Regions from separate parts of the Homo sapiens genome. Here region 2 is linked to region 1. The links are contacts of gene promoters, found by promoter capture Hi-C in human tissues and cell types (Jung and others, 2019). All regions are on one chromosome and are shown on one strand. Each heading gives the region's core, a stretch centred on a gene start or on the middle of the fragment in contact. The rest is flanking DNA. Distances are from core to core; before and after follow the strand shown.

Region 1 (2,584 bases), core at 41-2,540:
CTTCTCCCTAAATGCCCATCTCTAACCACTACGGACCTTCACCCACTGCCCTGTTCTCCTTCCAAGACATGGGAGATGACAGCTGTGGCTTCTGTTTTCACACCATGACTGCAGTTGTCTAAAAGCCCTCCCAGTTCCTAATGAAAATCCCAACTCATAATTCAGGTTTTCTGCATCTAGTAAAGATCTCAAAGCCGTTCCCTAAATTCTACAATTATTGCCTGTTTATGTTTATGGGTCCCTTTGTTCAAATGTTTATACGCTGCCTGTGGGAAATCATCTTCTGATAATTTTTCTTTCTTCCTTCACAGAAGCACAGAGATGTCTCCTGTACAGCCCATTGCTGGCTGTTAGCACACCTGATATATGCTTGTTCTCACATAGTATGTCTGTGCAGCCACAGGAGGTTTTTATGTGGAACTTCCACACCAGTGTTAAAGACAGCCATAGCCACCAAAGAGATCCTTGTAAAATACAGGATTAGGATATACCACAGGAATTAATAATTCTCAAGCCACTGCTTTAAATTGTAGCCACATTGTTTTTGTAGGGAAGTTGCTCAATTTATATACACAGAACATGAAGGGTTGCATTCTGATCAGGACACCAGTTTCATTTAAGAACCCTATACCAAAAGGTACTTAGATAACCCTCTTTAATATGCACATACTATATTGCTTTGTGCAACATATTGCTTTGAGCAACAAATGATGCTAATTTTCTTGCTAATTTGATCCTCTCTGATTATTTTCTTCAACTCCTAAAAGTCTAAGTGAATACAATGAAAGAATACCATCTGTAAAAACTGTTTTTTAACATATTTTTCCTCAGAGTCAAGAATACATGTTTTTTAAAGACATTTAATAATGATATGGGTTTATCATTCTCTATCAAAAATAATTCCATTGGACATTATGCCAATTTTCTTCTTAGGGTCCCTCGACTAAATAGTAACTTTAAAAACATACTGCTAGTTTGCTATATTTTAGTAGGTCAGCATGCACACCAAAAGTGTATTAAGGTGGACTGCTCTATTTATTGATTTGCCATGAATCTGCTAAAGGCTCAAGGCAATTGTCTGTGGAAAGGGGCGGGAGGGCCATACATGATCGAGGTCATGCGCATCTAGCCAATTTGTAAGACGATCCCGCCGCCCTAAGCCATCAGCAATCCTTAGTATAGGGGCACACTCATGCATTCCTGTCAAGTCATCTTGTGAAAGGCTGCCTGCTTCCAGCTTGGCTTGGATGTGCAACCTTAATAAAACTCACTGAGGTCTGGGAGAAAATAGCAGATCTGCAGCAGATAGGGTAGAGGAAAGGGTCTAGAATATGTACACGCAGCTGACTCAGGCAGGCTCCATGCTGAACGGTCACACAGAGAGGAAACAATAAATCTCAGCTACTATGCAATAAATATCTCAAGTTTTAACGAAGAAAAACATCATTGCAGTGAAATAAAAAATTTTAAAATTTTAGAACAAAGCTAACAAATGGCTAGTTTTCTATGATTCTTCTTCAAACGCTTTCTTTGAGGGGGAAAGAGTCAAACAAACAAGCAGTTTTACCTGAAATAAAGAACTAGTTTTAGAGGTCAGAAGAAAGGAGCAAGTTTTGCGAGAGGCACGGAAGGAGTGTGCTGGCAGTACAATGACAGTTTTCCTTTCCTTTGCTTTCCTCGCTGCCATTCTGACTCACATAGGGTGCAGCAATCAGCGCCGAAGTCCAGAAAACAGTGGGAGAAGATATAACCGGATTCAACATGGGCAATGTGCCTACACTTTCATTCTTCCAGAACACGATGGCAACTGTCGTGAGAGTACGACAGACCAGTACAACACAAACGCTCTGCAGAGAGATGCTCCACACGTGGAACCGGATTTCTCTTCCCAGAAACTTCAACATCTGGAACATGTGATGGAAAATTATACTCAGTGGCTGCAAAAAGTAAGTGATTGCTTTCAGTTTCTAATAGCACGGACCTTTTTCCTTTCTTGCACTGCAGCTAACTTAAAGTTCCTTAGGGGAGCATTTGTGTATTTACCTTTTGCTCCAGGGGGGCAGTGTTTGCAATTGCAAGACGGCTGTCTGGGTTTGGCTTCCTGGGTAAGCCAAGGTTTGGGGGCTTGCCCAAACCTATGAATGTGTGGGGGCACCCCGTTTGTGTGTCTAGCCCTGGCAAATTTTATGACATTTTTGGTTTCTCTTTTCTAAAGTTCAGCATTAAGGTTCTCTCTGTCAAAACACTACCTTAAGAAAGAAAGTATGTACCTCTTAAGCAAGTTGGTGAAAAATAAATAATAATGACAATATTAATTAATAAGATCAAATCGATTTTGCACCAGAAAATTTTGTGCCGCTGGGGTGGCAAATCATCACAAAGTATTTGTTTTTTTAACCTTTATAAAAATTAACATGAAGTGAGAGTAAATATAAAATATGATATTTGGTTGGAGAAATTGTATATTTATGTAAAGGGAACTGTTAGTTTCAGCAAGTGGTAGAATAGTAGACTGATTTCTGTTAAATATTTTTTTCTTCTGTCCTTGAGAAAAAAAATTAAAAAGATACATTGTAATGTTAAC
Region 2 (2,584 bases), core at 64-2,563, 810 kb after region 1:
GTCTCTTACAGTGCACACATTACATTTATTAAAACATACGATATTCTAGACCATAAAACAGGTCTAAATAAAGCCTTCAAATAGTAGTGTGTTCTCTGATCACACAGAATCGAATTAGAAATTAGTAAAAGACAGTTATCTAGAAAAATAAAACACTCTCAAATGGGTCAAAGAAGAAATCAAGAGAAAATATTTTAAAGTAAATGAAAATGAAAACACAACATTTAAAACAATATTTAGGGCAAAATGCATACCACTAAATGCTTATTATGTGTTTCAAATACTCATAAATTTATGAATTATACTTCAAAGAAATAGTTCTCATGTGTGAATTCTAAAGGCAGTATCATGTTATAGACATTTTTTGAGCAAAATCTGGAGTTTATTTTCCAACTCTATTACTTTACTATATTCTCTTTTCAGATTAGAAGTTTTTGCTTAGAAAAGCAACAAAGTGAAGCAGACAAAATAGATTCTGGGCTGGGTGCGGTGGCTCACACCTGTAATCCCAGCACTTTGGGAGGCCGAGGCAAGTGGATCACCTGAGGTTAGGAGTTTAAGACCAGCCTGACCAACATGGTGAAACCCTGTCTCTACTAAAAATACAAAAAGTTAGCCAGATGTGGTGGCGAGTGCCTATAATCCCAGCTACTCAGGAGGCTCAGGCAGGAGAATTGCTTGAACCCAGGAGGCAGAGGTTGCAGTGAGCCGAGATCACGCCATTGCACTCCAGCCTGGCTGATAAGAGCGAAACTTCATCTCAAAAAAAAAAAAAAAAAAAAAAGATTCTGACTAGGTTTGAATTCTGGCCATTATAGAGAGATCTTGGACCTATTAACCTTTCCTATGAACCCTTCCTGTTTTGTTTTTCCCTGTGGAAAAGAAATATGACTGCCTATTTCACAAGATTGTTTTGAATTGATAAAATAATTAAGATACCTCAAATACTCTCTGGCATATAGAAGGTACTCAATAAATACTAGATATCTTCCTATTTGTGTGCTATACTAGTTATACAGAAGTTCACACTCCACACAGTACCTGGCAGCAGTCATTTTATTCACACTTTTGAAATATCCTACCAACAGCAACTTAGCTGTGCCTTAGTGAATTTATTTATATTCCATTACTTTTAACAATTACAACAGATCACCAGACTCTAAGTTATAAGCAACATCCATACTAACCCAAAATAATAGTATCACTAGTACCTTTCTATAATATTCAAGCATTTTCTGACATTGATGACTTAAAATGTAAATGCCAAACTATCATACATTAGTAATAACTAAAGCATGATTAAAGGTCTTCTCTAAAGTGTCATTCTTTACCTTGCCACTGGTAATATATTTGCAATTAATTTTAAGAAATTTCTCAGTAAATGCTTCCTCCTCCTCAGAAGTTGAAGATACAACTCGTGCAGGTCGAATACCAGTGAAAGTAGATGAGGGAGTTGCTTCTGTTGGATGGACATCAGGATTCTTTTTTTTTTTTTTAAAGGAAAGAAAAAAAAAAGCAGAAAACAAAATAAAAATGAGCACACTATTAAAAAGTCAAATGAATAGCTTTCCCCAATAAGTGTTGTTTCATTTCACCGCATTCTGGAAGTCAGCCCGAAATATTTTTACGTACAAATTATAGGACAAAAGTGGCACTATTTTCATATTCAATAAAGATCACAAACACAGGTTAAACTTACATTTATAGTGATTTTTAATAGGGAGATACACATATCTATAAATTTAAAAAATAAAATAATCTGGAGAACAGTGAACACTACATCTCTTGTACCCACACCCAACACATACACACACGTGCACACACACTCAGATGCTCCTGAATTAAACCACTGACTCTGATAAGACCATATAATATAATATCCATCAGGTGCTGGGAGCAGTAAAAAGGTGGAAAGCTTACCTTAGTACCTAAGCATACAGCAGAACCCATTCACTGGAATAGCCTTTTAAATCTCGAGCTACAGTTGATAAATCCCATTCCACTAGATCACAAGTTTCTTAACTTTTTTGGTGCTACTGACCATTCTTACAGTGAAGCCTATGAACCAGCTTCTCAGAATGTTTTGGAATGGTCAAAATAAAATAGAGAATTATAAGGAAAAACAAATGGAAACAACATGGTATTAAAACATTTTTTAAAAACAAACTAGAGGTATAGTTATATATATATGTGTATATATATATGTGTGTGTGTGTGTGTGTATATATATAGACACACACACACATATATACGCTTCTTGGTTTTTTTTTGTTGAACTTAAGCTTAGCCAAGTTCAATAACTTGACAAATGAGTAAGGAGCTAAGATGCAAACCTATGTTATCAACACACAAACCAGTGAGCTTAACTGTAATATTGTATCGCTTCCCTTTCAAATCTTCTACCAAACAACTCAAAAATATGCTAAGAAAAAAATAGCTGATGCAGAGCTATAAGAGGGTCCCCTGCAAACTGGCAAAAAGCTATCAACAAATTTTGTGATTCCTCAATTCCCCCAAAACTGAGTTAACCGCATTAGTCACACACAAATATAAATATATGTGTGTGTATATATATATATATATA

What was found. The method cuts DNA at HindIII sites, captures the fragments that hold promoters and counts their contacts. A contact is called where the count stands out against the background at its distance.
Region 2: a fragment that was not itself captured here is called in contact with the fragment with the promoter of ANGPT1 in region 1 in 1 of the 25 tissues and cell types used here (IMR-90 fibroblasts).

The regions. Positions count from the first base shown.
Region 1 is chr8:107,496,624-107,499,207 of GRCh38, reverse strand. It overlaps ANGPT1 (angiopoietin 1), which reads left to right and starts at 1,290. Exons shown (of 9, transcript NM_001146.5): 1 at 1,290-1,946. The coding sequence starts at 1,650. The HindIII fragment of the contact is 10,393 bases long and covers 1-2,584 here.
Region 2 is chr8:106,691,625-106,694,208 of GRCh38, reverse strand. OXR1 (oxidation resistance 1) reads right to left here. Exons shown (of 17, transcript NM_001198533.2): 7 at 1,332-1,481. Among named protein-coding and RNA genes, the nearest start is that of OXR1-AS1, 35 kb to the right of the region's middle. The HindIII fragment of the contact is 5,852 bases long and covers 1-2,584 here.